Regions from separate parts of the Homo sapiens genome. Here regions 1 and 2 are each linked to region 3. Evidence: promoter capture Hi-C in 16 types of primary human blood cells and fetal thymus (Javierre and others, 2016). All regions are on one chromosome and are shown on one strand. Each heading gives the region's core, a stretch centred on a gene start or on the middle of the fragment in contact. The rest is flanking DNA. Distances are from core to core; before and after follow the strand shown. Region 1 overlaps GRSF1 (G-rich RNA sequence binding factor 1). Region 2 overlaps RUFY3 (RUN and FYVE domain containing 3). Region 3 holds the start of MOB1B (MOB kinase activator 1B).

Region 1 (4,343 bases), core at 1,345-3,844, 87 kb after region 3:
ACATCCTGTTTGTTTCAGAATTTAAAACCCTCCATGGTGGGTCACTTGAGGTCAGGAGTTCAAGATTAGCCTGGCCAACTTAGTGAAACTCCGGCTCTACTGAAAATGCAAAAATTAGCCAGGTGTGGCACACGCCTGTAATCCCAGTTACTTGGGAGGCCAAGGCAGGAGAATCGCTTGAACCTGGGAGGCAGAGGTTGTAGCGAGCCAAGATCACACCATTGCACTCCAGCCTGGGCAACAGAGTGAGACTCTGTCAAAATCAAAAAAACCAAAATACAAAAAACTCCATTGTTCTGAGAGTTTCCCCTAAATTATCGGAAGACACTCACATTGAATTGGTAGGACCTATAGTATAGAGGAGAATGGTATGTATGTCAGCAGTAGAGTTCCAATCCAAATTGCGCTATCGCATTAGAAATACATTACCCTCCCACTCCCCAAGTTCAGCAAATTAGAAGAGAATCTGAAGTTTGTAGGAAGGGAATAAAGCTGCTATAAACATTTATGTGCAGGTTTTTGTGTAGACTCGTTTTCAGCTCCTTTGGGTAAATACCAAGGAACCAGGTTGCTGGATTGTAAGTTAAGAGTATGTTTAGTTTTGGAAGAAACTGCCAAACTGTTCCAACATGACTATTTTGAATTCCCATTGACAATGAATAAGAGTTCCTGTAGCTCCTCACCCTCATTAGTATTTGGTGATGTCACTCTTGCATTTTAGCTAATGGGTGAATAGTGGTCTCATCGTTTTAATTCCCAATCCCATAGTGATGTGGAGCACCTTTTCATATACTTAATCTGCCATCCTTATATCATCATTGGTGAGGTGTCTGGATTTTCTGTCCAGAATTTTAGTTCTAGTGGTTTTCTTATTTTTAGAAAGGAAGTATAGGAAGGAAGGTTTAATCTGTCTTAAGCCTGATTATATGAAAATCAAGAATAGGCTAGGTGTGGTGGCTGACATCTGTAATCCCCGCACTTTGTGAGGCTGAAGTGGGAGGACTGCTTGAGCCTGGGAAGTCAAGCCTGCAGTGAGCCATGACTGTTGCTGCACTCCAGCCTGAGTGACAGAGTGAGACCCTGTCTCAGAAAAAAAAAAAGCAGGCTCATTTTAAAGTTGTTTATATTTTATTTTTTGAAGGAAATAAACTTGAAGAGATACAAACGGTAGTGAAGATTCTCCTTCCCCTCCTGTAATTCAGCTGTTTAGTTTCTATTCTCGCACAGCCCTGTTATCAGTTTCTAGTGTAAGCTTGCAGTGACTTTTACTTTATTTATAAGCAAGTGTTAGTGGGTGTTGTCATTTCTTTTAAAAATATAAATTATACTGTACATGCTATTTTGTATTTTGGCTTTTCTCCCACCTAAACACCCTAAAGATCATTTTCTGTCAGTATATAAAATCTTGGTGATGCCAATACCCATCCCTTAGATTGTACAAGCAGCATTTTGCCATGCTTTATCCCATAGCCTGCCTCCTGCAGTCTCATCTTTTTTTCTATATGCATGTCCAAGTAAGTTGTAGACATTTTTCACTTTTAATCCTTTCAGCATACATGTCATGGGAATTTGTTTTTGTTTTTGTTTTTTGTGTTTGAGACAGTCGCTCTGTCACCCAGGCTGGAGTTATAGTGACGTGATCCCAGCTCATTACAGCCTCCACCTCCCAGTTTCAAGCAATTCTCATGCCTCAGATTCCCGAGTAGCTGGGATTACAGATGTGCACCACCACGCCTGACTAATTTTTGTATTTTTAGTAGAGATGGGGTTTCATCATGTTGGCCAGGCTGGTCTGGAACTCCTGGCCTCCAGTCATTTGCCTGCCTCGGCCTCCCAAAGTGCTGGGATTACAGGCATCAGCCACCACACCCAGCCGTCATTGGAGTTTTTTTGAGGGAGATTTGCAGTAAGGTGAATAAATGTTAAGTGTATCATTTGATGAGGTTTTTTCTTTTTTTTTTTTTTTTTTTGAGATGGAGTCTTGTATCGCCCAGGCTAGAGTGCAGTGGCCTGGTCTTGGCTCACTGCAACCTCCACCTCCTGGGTTCAAGGGAGTCTCCTGCCTCAGCCTCCCGAGTAGCTGGGATTACAGGTGTGAGCCACCATACCCAGACTCATTTGATGAGTTTTGATGTAAAAGCATGTAACTCAAACCCCTATGTCTGGAACATCTGTATTACATCTGAATTTTTTCACCTAGTCAATTCCTGCACCTCTCTCTCCTGTCCCTTCTTCCCTCCCCTGGCAGTCAGCTACTGTTAGGATTTTGTTCACTGTAGATTAATTTTGCCTATTCTAGAACTTCATATAACGGACTCACTTATGCAGTATGTATTCTGTAAGTTCCTTTTACTCAGCATGTTTGTATGTTCATCAGTGTGTTTAAGCTTTGTTCCTTTTTATGGCTGAGCAGTGTTCTATGTATGAATGCCACATTTTAACGTTTCACCTGTTAGGTGAACAACTAACTGGTGAACAATGGGCTGTTTCTAGTTTGGGGCTATCATGAATAAAGTTGGTATGAACATGTACAACCTTTTTGTGAACCTACATTTTAATTTAATTTAATTTGGATAAGTATTTAGGAGTGAGATTATCCTGAGTTGATGTATTTTAAATTTTACTAGAAGACGACAAACCTTTTCCTAAATGGTTATCCTGGTTTACATTCCCAGAGTTCTAGTAGGTCCATATCCTTACCATTTGCTGTTGTCAGTCTATAATTTTAGCCATTGTGTAGTGGTATCTTCTGGTTTTAATTTGCATTCCCTGACAATGAATAGTACTTTTTCATAAGCTTACTAGCCATTTGGATATCTTTAGTAAAGTTGAAGTGTCTGTTTCTTCTCTTATTCAGGATGTTTTGCCATCCATTTATTTTTTTCTTATTTGCTGAAGAAATAAGATTAACCTGTAGGTTTCCATAATCTGAGTTTGGCTGATTGCCTTTGTGTGATGTTTATTAACCGCTTTTCTATTGGCTTTGGTCTTTTAACTAATCTGCAGGAGTACTTTGTTCCTATAGTGAGCTTTAAATACCTTTTCCCCCCAGTTTGTCCTCTTTGTTTGCTCATGATGGCAGAAACTATTTTTACATCGCTGAATTCTTAAATCTCCCCTTTTATAGTTTCAAGGTTTTATGTCAGCATTAGAACATCTTAGTGAAATGGTTCTGAAAGCACTTGGGGATAAAGCATGAAGGTGTATAACCAAAGTAGACTCTAGAATATGGATGGATTCATTGAAGGTCACAAGGATCACCAAGATATGTTTAAGAATCTTAATTTGAAGCCCACAGGCAAAATTTAACAAGTTTATTCAAAGACTTGTGATTTGAAAACATACCTGGTTATGGCCTGGCTTGGTGGCTCATTCCTGTAATCCCAGCACTTTGGGAGGCCGAGGTGGGCGAATCACCTGAGGCCAGGAGTTCGAGACTAGCCTGGCCAACATGGTGAAACCCTGTCTGTACTAAAAATATAAAAGTTAGCCGGGTGTGATAGTGCATGCCTATAATCCCAGCTACTTGGGAGGCTGAGGAGAATTGCTTGAACCAGGGAGGCAGAGGTTGCAGTGAGCCGGGATCACGCCACTGCACTCCATCCTGGGCAACAGAGTGAGACTCCGTCTCAAAAACAAAAACAAACAAAAATACCTGGTTATGATGGAAATAAAGAGGTTCTGAACCTTTGCTGCTGCTGCTTGACAGAAGATGGCAGACATTTGGGAATAAAGACCAAGAGCTAGGGAGACAAGTTATTAACAGTTTCTGATGGGCTGGCTGTTGATTCATTCATTTCTTGCCTCCTCAAGAAAGCAAGATGGGGCTGAGCATGGTGGCTCACACCTGTAATTCTAGCACTTTGGGAGGCCGGGGCAGGTGGATCACCTGAGCTTAGAAGTTTGAGACCAGCCTGGGCAACATGGTGAAACCCATCTCTACCAAAAATACAAAAACTAGCTAGCCATGGTGGCTCACGCCTGTAGTTCCAGCTACTCAGGAGGCTGAGGTGGGAGTATCACTGGAGCCTGGGAAGTGGAAGCTGAGATCACACAGGTTACACCACTGCACTCCAGCCTGGGTAACAGCAAGACAAAAATAAATTGCGGAATACGAGCAATGTTATGCTAGAAGAACATAGTATTTGTGATAGATGTTGTAATTGAATATGAATGATACTTTATTTTTTCTTAACTTTACCTTCCACCAGCTCACTCCATGAATGATACTTTTGTGCCATAAAGCAGCATCCAGAATGCTAAGTCATTACTGCTTTCTGGAGACTTGTACAGCTTTTTCACTGTACTTGCCCTTGCCCTTTGGAAGCCTGAGTTACCTCTTC
Region 2 (4,708 bases), core at 2,041-4,540, 110 kb after region 3:
CCTCCCAAAGTGTTAGGATTACAGGTGTGAGCCACCCAGCTGAGATGTGTGTTCTTACACCACTCAAGAATCAAGGAAGAGAGGTCAATACTTATCCTCCTGGAAATGCCACTGCAGGCAACAACTGAAGACTGAAAAACTTAAAACCTCATTGGAAAAATAGGGTGAGGTAGGCCAAGATTTTAAGTAAACTTTTGTAAGCCTTTTAGATTTTATGTTCACTAAACTAAAATAATAAAGATAGCATGCTACACAGAGTGTTTTTTTTTATTATTTTTTTATTTTTTTGAGATGGAGTCTTGATCTGTCACCCAGGCTGGAGTGCAGTGGCTCAGTCTTGGCTCACTGCAACCTCCGCCTCCCGGGTTCAACCAATTCTCCTGCCTCAGCCTCCCGAGTAGCTGGGATTATAGGAGACTACCACCATGCCCGGCTTATTTTTGTATTTTTAGTAGAGACAGGGTTTCACCATGTTGTCCAGGCTGGTCTTGAACTCTTGACCTCATGATCTGCCCACCTTGGCCTCCCAAAGTGCTGGGATTACAGGTGTGAGCCACCGTGCCTGGCCTAGAGTGGTTCTTTGTACACTTTAAATTATTAGTAGTGGTACTATTTAATAAATTTCCACATACCATTGTTTTCTATTTGCCAGTAAATTAGCAGCTCACTCTCTAGAAATTTTAAATAGTTTATGAACTCTTCCTGCTTTGTTATATACTAGAGGTATTCAAAAAGTTCATGGAAAACGCGTATTACGAAAAGACTGTGCATGGACTTCAAAAATATTTCGCACCAAAATAAACTTGTATTAACTTATTTTAATATATCTAATCAGGATTTGGTTTGAGTCACTAAAAAGGATAAGACATCAGTTTGAAAAGAACCCCGGGCTGGGCACGGTGGCTCATGCCTGTCATCCTAGCACTTTGGGAGGCTGAGGCAGGCATATCGCTTGAGCCCAGGAGTTGAAGACCAGCCTGGACAACATGGCAAAACCCTGACTCTACCAAAAAAATACAAAAATTAGCTGAGTTTTGTGGTGTGTGCCTACAGTCCCAGCTACTCAGGAGGCTGAGGCAGGAGGATCACCTGAGCCTGGGAAATCGAGGCTGCAGTGAGGCATGATTGTGCCACTGTACTCAGTTCTAGGTGAGAATGAGACTCTGTTTCAAAAAAAAAAAAAAGAAAAGAAAAGAAAAGAAAAAAGAGCCCCTATCAGAGTAATATGAATTCTGCTAAAATTGAAGCAAGAACAAACATCAAATTGGTGGTGAAGCATGGATGGAAGAATTGTGAAATTATTGATGCTTTACAAAAAGCTTTTGGGGACAATGCTTTAGGATTGTCCCCAAAGAAGTGGGCAGTTTACAAAAGGATAACTCACTTTAAGAAGGGGCCAGATGATGTTGAAGATGAAGCCTGCAGTAGCAGACTATCCACATCAATTTGTGAGGATCTTGTTCATGCTCTAATTGAAGAGGACCAACAATTAACAGTAGAAACAATAGCCAACACCACAGATATCTCAATTGGTTAGGCTTATACAATTCTGGTTGAAAAATTAAAGTTGAGTAAACTTTCTACTTGATGGGTGCCAAAACTGTTGTGCCCGTATCAGCTGCAGACAAAAGTATAGCTTTCAATGGAAATTATAAACAAGTGGGATCAAGAACCTGAAGCATTTGTTTGAGAAATTGTAACAGGAGATGTAACAACTTCATAGTACAATCCTGAAGACAAAGCACAATCAAAGCAATGGCTATGAAGAGGTGGAAGTGGTGCAATCAAAGCAAAAGCAGACGGGTCAAAAGCAAAGGTCATGGCAACAGTTTTTAGGGATGCTGAAGGCATTTTGCTTGTTGACTTTCTGGAAGGCCAGAGAATGCCAACATCTGCTTATTGTGAGAGTGTTTTTAATTTTTTTTATTTTTGGGGACAGAGTGTTGCTCTGTCACCCAGGCTGGAGTGCAGTGGTGTGATCTTGGCTCACTGCAACCTCTACCTCCCAGGTTCAAGTGATTCTCATGCCTCAGCCTCCCAAGTAGCTGGGACTAGAGACTAGAGGCATGTGCCACCACACCTGGCTAATACTTGTGATGAATGTTTTGAGAAAGTTAGCCAAAGTTTTAGCACAAAAATGCCCAGGAAAGCTTCAACAGAGAGTGCTATTCCACCAGAAATATGCTCCTAACTCATTCCTCTCATCAGACAATGGCAATTCTGTGAGAGTTATGATGGGAAATCATTAGGCATCCACTTTACAGTCCTGATTTGGTGCCTCTGATTTCTTTTTGTTTCCTAATCTTAAAACATCATTAAAGTGCACCAATTTTTCTTCAGTTAATAATGTAAAAAAGATTGTATTGATATGATTAAATTCCTAGGACCCTCAGTTCTTCAGGGATGGCCTACATGACTAGTATCATCACTTACTAAAGTCTCTTGAACTTGATGGAACTTAGGTTGAGAAATAAAGTTTATATATCTTTACCTTTTAATTCCATTTCCCATGATCTTTTTGAAGTCGCCTTGTATAATATGTACACACAGAAGGCAATTTTTTCACTGTCTTTTACAGAAAAAGTTATTTTATGTTTTTCTGATTTCATTATTTCCTGGGCCCCAGAGATGATCTTACCCAATTGTAGCTCCTTCATCACTGGAGGTGCTGGAGGGGTCTCCTTCTAAGATTATTATGTAGAAATTTCTACTTTTGCTCTTTATTCTGTATTACCTTCCTTTCCTCAAGCCTAATTCCCTAATTATTCCCACGAGAAGTTCCTTAAGGATACTCAAAATGAAATCCTCATGATTTGAAAAAGGTATACAGAAGCAAATCCACATTGAGGAAAATTCTGTTAAAGGGGAATTCAGGGTTGGAGAGGGATTATTATACTATTTTATTAAAATTATTATTTAGCAGAAATCCAAGAAACATATATTTTTGTTAAGACACCAAAATAATCTTACTTAAAAAATTATTAAAAGGGAAATAGGGTCACTGTGATTATTAAAATCCCCCTTTCCAAATGAAATCAAGTTGGAGAAAGTATCCTAGAGGCAGACTCAGAATCAAGCTTTCATTTGTTCACATAATTACTAGTTTGCTATCTACATACTTGAGGACACAGCCACTAAGTATGTGATCTGTAAAGGAAAACTGACAGGACTATCAAGGTAGCCTCTAAAATTTAAACTGAAATTAAGTAAAAGAACAAGGGAATAGCAAATATTACCATCTTGGATTCTGACTTCTGGGAACCCCTTCCTGGGATGCTCCTGTCGTTTTGTAATCTTCTTTCTTTTTCCTGTTTTAGTTCTAACTCAAGCTGGTTCCTGAGGTAAGTTGGAGAGGAAAAGGATGAAAAATTGGAATTCTATACAGACATATTCTCTAAAGAATGCCAACCCCTTGTCTTAAAGTGCAGTAATTACGAATGGTTAAGGGCTTGCTGTCAGAGAGACAGGTTTTTAAATGATAATGTTGCTACTTCTAAGCTTAACTGTGTGAATCTGGACACATTTAACCTGTCTAATCTCTACCTTTTTTTGAGATGGAGTCTTGTTCTGTTGCCAGGCTGGAGTGCAGTGGCATGATCTCAGGTCACCGTAACCTCCATTTCCTAGGTTCAAGCAATTCTCCTGCCTCAGCCTCCCGAGTAGCTGGGATTACTGGCACCCACCACTATGTCTGGCAAATTTTTGTATTTTTAGTAGAGATGGGGTTTCACCATCTTGGCCAGGCTGGTCTGGAACTCCTGACCTCAGGTGATACACCTGCCTTGGCCTCCCAAAGTGCTGGGATTACAGGCATGAACCACTGCGCCCAGCCTTAAGCTCTACTTTAATCTGAAAGTGGAGGCAATAATATCACTAATAGGGTTGATATGAAGATATTAGGAGAGTTTGCATGTGAAGTGCCTAAAGTATCTGGCACACAGTAAGAATTCAGGAAATATTACATATTATTATTAGTGTTATTTTGGCTAATAATTACTATTTATCTGGGATCTTGGGCTCTAATTTCCTAATTCTTTGATCACAAAGCATGTTGATCGGATTTGGGGAATGTTGAAGTACGTGAAGCTTTCTGAATTCCAATTCCAGAGAAAGGACATTGCAAAGACAGAGCCAACCTGGCTGGAAGTCATGAGACCCCTTTTCTTGCTGTCTACCCTAAGAATTACCCATGACCACCCTGTCAGCTCAAGCTACCCCCTCTTCACCGCTGCCTGGTGAGCTCCTCGACTTCCAGCTGCAGACTGTTGATCTTGTCTCCAAAGTCCTGTTTGAAGAGCCGGTTGTCCAACTCAGCAGATTGGCGGCTTCGCTCAGCCTGGCGCAATCTGGATGTGAGCCACATGAACTTGTGATAAAAAACAAAAGCCATGGTGGGGAAGAAGACCAAGTTCACAACACAAAATAAAATAACCCAAGGAAGAATGCACAGAGAGACAGAGAGAGGAAAAAAACTTTGCAGGACACAGGTGAAGAAATTATGGGGGGGAAAAGATGGAGAAGAAACAAATTCTAAAGAAAAGTAAGATGAAGGTGAACCAGGCAGAGGAAAAGCTGATTTTCCATTTTTTTTATTCTAGTACTACAGTTTACAGCCATTAGATGATAAACAATAAAACATCACTTTTTAGAAAATCCATATCCAAAGCCAACCTCAAGTACACAGTAATTTAAGTTAAATCCACTTTTT
Region 3 (4,654 bases), core at 1,719-4,218:
AGCCTGGGAAGTCAAAGCTACAGTTAGCTGTGGTCATGCCACTGCACTCCATCCTGGTCGACAGAGTGAGATCCTGTCTCCAAAAAAAAAAAAAGAAACAGTATTCAGACAGTTATACCAAATAACAAATAGAAGAAATAACCAAAGCTTTGTTCTTTCACTTCCAATAATAATCATTTCCATGTGGTGTTCACTTTGGATTTTTAATTGACGGTAGACAAAGACCAAAACTGAAAATGTTGAATTAACTTTTCTGATTGTCAAGCACATGGGCTAAATATGTTGAGAATATATCAACTGCTAGATAGATATAACCTAACTGAAAAATTGTGCCCCAAATAGTGCAAATGCTCTAAAGTTCTATATACATTAGTTACAGCAAGATTTCTTTTGTAGTTACTAACCTTCAGGAGAAACAAACTAATCCACCACAAATCTGAATCTATTAAATACTGAGCCATGTAAAAATAGGATTCTACTGTATTTGTATTCAAAAAATAGCATCAGAAACTTCTCCATCCCCTAGTTTCAGCCAAATATGGCTCTTCCCTGCTTTAACCTTTTTTTTTTTTTTTTTTGAGACAGAGTCTCACTCTGCCACCCAGGCTGGAGTGCAGTGGCGCGATCTCGTCTCACTTCAACCTCTACCTCCCGGGTTCAAGTGATACTCCCGTCTCAGCCTCCCAAGTAGCTGGGACTACAGGTGCGTGCCACCTTGCCCAGCTAATTTTTGTATTTTTAGTAGAGACGGGGTTTCACCATATTGGCCAGGCTGATCTCGAACTCCTGACCTGGTGATCTGCCTGTCTTGGCCTCCCAAAGTGCTGGGATTACAGGCATGAGCCACCGCGACTGGCCTTGCTTTAACCAATTTAGCTTACTAGACACAAGCCCATCAGCAGTAGTCATGGATATCATCTACAGTGCTATTTTGAATACAGCTTCTAAATTCTTGAAAACAATCAAACATTAGCAATGTAAAATTAAGCTCAAGATGAGAAGCTTCAAGTTGAGATACCTGAATATGGTGATTAGAACTAAAACAAGAAACTGCCCAGGCACGGTGGGCTCACGTCTGTAATCCCAGCACTTTGGGAGATCAAGGCAGGCAGATCACTTGAAATCAGGAGTTCGAGACCAGCCTGGCCAACATGGTGAAACCCCCATCTCTATTAAAAATACAAAAATTAGCCAGGCGTGGTGGCGCGGGCCTGTAGTCCCAGCTACTCAGGAGGCTGAGGCAGGAGAATCGCTTGAACCCGGGAGGCAGAGGTTGCAGTGAGCCGAGATCACGCCACTACACACTCCAGCCTGGTGACAGAGCGGAGACTCCGTCTCAAAAAAAAAAAAAAAAAAAAAAAAGAACTAAAATAAGAAACAAGGACTTTTTTATAAAATCACCCAGTCCTGTCATCTAGCCCTATGCCAATCCGACAAACTCAGAATCAACTTCTAGGAGGAGCCTAAGAAATCCCTTTCCGTTTAAAGGTTTTAGGCAAGTTGACACAAGCCAGGTCCCCTATGCATATTGGAAATATCAAGTCTGCCCCTAGGTCAGCCTTGTTCAGTTTTGCTTAAACACCCTAAAAAAAAAAATTCTAGATGTGAGCATGTGAAAATAAGAGTGAATTAAATTCTCAGTATTCAGACGTCAATGTAATGACTAAAAATTATTAGGCAAGGAAAGAAGAGAAATCTTAAGAAAATATCCTTTAAATGCTAATTTCTCCACAACAGTAAAACAGTATATGGGTGAGTTTCAACTTCTAAGTTTTTTATTAGTTTTCTAAACACAGACTAAACATGGAATGAGTGCATCACAACGAAGCCTTCAAAGGAGTTATTCCTCAGGCTGTAACCCCTGTTTTCAGAGGACCTGAGGCTTATCTACTGCCTCCATATCCACATCTGGCCATCCCATCCTTCTGCCCTTCCCCCTCCACGTTCCCCTCCACTCGTCTGGAACAAACGATAAGTAAGTGAAATAATGACCAGCACTAAACATGACGCCAAAGTTGGCATTTACAAATGATTTTCAAAACAACTCCCCAGTGGACCTAATCAACCTAGGCAGGGCACACTATCCAAAACCTATTTGCTGGTTGTCTAAAAAGATAAAACTCATCCTCTTCAGGGAAGTCCTCTGGGAGGAAGGGCGCCTCTAGGAAGCAAGGGGGCGGCTCCAGACCCCTTTCTCAGGGACCCCCGTCTGTGTCCAAGGGATCCCGACCCGCAAGTAGCCTTGTTTCAGTGTTACATCTACAGAACTTGTCATCCCAACTTCCCAGCCCTAAGACGAGAGAGGAAGTTAAAAGGGTCCTGGGATGACAGGGGAAAGTACGACAGTCTTATCTTCTGTGCTTGGGACCCAGAAAAGAGCAATGGGCAGCCGCGACGGAGCCATTCAACCGAGCACCGCTTGGATACGGATTGTGCAGGCGAGTGGGAGATACCCACGAGAAGCGCACAAACAAGCCCGGGAATGCGAGCGAAGGCAGAGACGGGGGTGATGAAGGAATCCAGGCGCTGGCCCCGGGGTGTGCCGGGGGGGAAGAACCTCCTCAGGGCTGCAGGAGCCCACGAGTACTCGAAGCCCTATGGGGAGGCGGCGGTTAGGTAGTCCGAGCGCTCCGCGCAGTCCCGGGGCCCCGCTTGGTGGTGACGCCGGGCCCCGGGAGCGCTGGGCCAGGAGGGTCGGGACGAGGGCGGGCGACGGGCGGCGGGCGGCGGGCGGGGGCCCAGGTCCACCCGAACAAAGCCGGCGCGTGCGGGGCCTGGCTACTCACAACAAGAAGCTCATGTTGGCCGCGGGGCAGGCTGCAGGCTCGGCGGTCGCGAGGCCTCGGAGCGGCGTGGGCCAGGAAAGAAGAGGAAAGGCGAATGGAACAGGAGACAGGGAGGCGGAGGAGGAGGTGCCGAGAGCCGGCTGCTCGGTGGCCGCAACTAGTTCGGCTCAGCTAGTTCCAATGGCAGGGGGAGGGGGCGGAAGTGGGTAGCGCTCGTCTTGAATCACTCCAGGGGAGGGGAAGGAAAGGGAGGCGGGGCAGGCTCTCCGCGAGCCCCTCCCCAGCTCCCCGCCGCCCCCACCTCACGAGCTCTCGCGATAGCGGTGCAAGCCCACCCCGGCCCTCCGGCTGCGGCATGGGGACTCTCACCTTCTGGTCTCCTCTGCTGCTAGGGACGACGCCCAGCGTGTGCGCCGCGGCTGCCCGGCCCCCCTGTCCACCCGGTTAGGAGTCATGGCAGAGCTCTCGGAGCCGCTCAGCTGGGCTCCAGAGGTCAGGGAGGAAGTGGGCTTCAGCTCGGGGATGTCAAGGTCCCGCAGTGAGGGATGGAATTACCACCGGAGTTAGGCCCACCGTGAGTGTCCGGCCAAGGGCGGTGAAAGGTAATGGCATCTCTCAGTTCACCACGGAACCCAGCATGATAGGGTGGTCATCGGTGTAACCACTTAGGGGGCCAAAGCTTGTAAGCATTCTAATGCACAGAACATCCTAGAAGCTAGAAGCTATTCAGACCCACTTACAAAGGGACTTTTATTCTCACAGGGTTATGGGGCCCAGGGCAAGCCTTTATATTCTGTTTAAGAATCCTTCACATACCTTGAATATGTCACCACAGCATTACCAATTTAGGAGGGAAATACGGGTATCGAAGAGATGTCCGTCTTCTTTACTCACAACACCCATCAAATCTACAAGTTTTCAAAGAGAATCTGAGCAAAACAAATCATGTGCAGATATTAGCTCACCTTTGGCTTATCCCAAAGGGCAGAATACACTTTGAAGTAGGTGCAGATATGAAATGTATTATACTGCATATATGCACTATTATTTGGCACGTTGGTAAAGTGGTAAAAAAAAAAAAAAAAAAAAAAAAAAAAAAAAAAAAAAACGTTTTAGGCCGGGCGCAGTGGCTCATGCCTGTAATCCCAGCACTCTGGGAGGCCGAGGTGGGTGGATCACCTGAGGTCAGGAGTTCAAGACCAGCCAAAGTTCAAGACCATGGCCAAACCCCGTCTCTACTAAAAATACAAAAATTAGCCGGGCATGGTGGCACACACTTGTAATCCCAGCTACTCGGGAGGCTGAGGCAGGAGAATTGCTCCAACCCAGGAAGCAGAGGTTGCAGTGAGCCAAGATCATGCCACTACACTCCAGCCTGGGTGACAGAGTTAGACTCCGTCTCAAAAAAAAAATTTTTTAATAGAAGAAAATACTAGAATCTTGCACTATCTCAGGAACAGCAGAGGTTACTGGAATGAGAAAACTTACAGACTCAAAAGATTACCAGATCAGGATAAATAGCTAATGCATGCAGAGCTTAATACCTAGGTGATAAGTTGATAGGTTCAGCACACCACCATGGCACACACGTTTACCTATGTAACAAACCTGCACGTCCTGCACATGTATCCTGGAACTTCAAATTAAATTAAAAATTTTTTAAAAGATTCCCCAAAAAGAAGAAAGAGGAGGATTTATCTGAATGAAAATAATAGATTTATGGTATAAAACCCTGTGCTCCAAATATTGATATGGTACTGACTTACTGTATAATTCTTTTTTTTTTTTTTTTTTTTGAGACGGAGTCTCACTCTGTCACCCAGGCTGGAGTCCAGTGGTGCAACTTCTGGACTAGGCTCACTGCAACT

The links. Contacts are between HindIII fragments. The CHiCAGO score rates a contact against its expected background, and 5 or more counts as called.
Region 1: a fragment that was not itself captured here is called in contact with the fragment with the promoter of MOB1B in region 3 in 3 of 17 cell types (M0 macrophages, M1 macrophages and total B cells); the score reaches 7.7 in M0 macrophages.
Region 2: a fragment that was not itself captured here is called in contact with the fragment with the promoter of MOB1B in region 3 in 1 of 17 cell types (M0 macrophages); the score reaches 8.0 in M0 macrophages.

The regions. Positions count from the first base shown.
Region 1 is chr4:70,813,974-70,818,316 of GRCh38, reverse strand. GRSF1 (G-rich RNA sequence binding factor 1) reads left to right here. Exons shown (of 10, transcript NM_002092.4): 10 at 1-2,534. Among named protein-coding and RNA genes, the nearest start is that of GRSF1, 24 kb to the left of the region's middle. The HindIII fragment of the contact is 410 bases long and covers 2,390-2,799 here.
Region 2 is chr4:70,793,423-70,798,130 of GRCh38, reverse strand. RUFY3 (RUN and FYVE domain containing 3) reads right to left here. Exons shown (of 18, transcript NM_001037442.4): 13 at 4,227-4,346; 14 at 3,237-3,336. Among named protein-coding and RNA genes, the nearest start is that of GRSF1, 44 kb to the left of the region's middle. The HindIII fragment of the contact is 421 bases long and covers 3,080-3,500 here.
Region 3 is chr4:70,900,683-70,905,336 of GRCh38, reverse strand. MOB1B (MOB kinase activator 1B) reads right to left here and starts at 2,968. Exons shown (of 6, transcript NM_173468.4): 1 at 2,787-2,968. The coding sequence starts at 2,800. It overlaps LOC124900711 (a long non-coding RNA gene), which reads left to right and starts at 3,106. Exons shown (of 2, transcript XR_007058132.1): 1 at 3,106-3,388. RefSeq lists silencers at 2,639-2,688, 2,999-3,148. The HindIII fragment of the contact is 2,463 bases long and covers 1,005-3,467 here.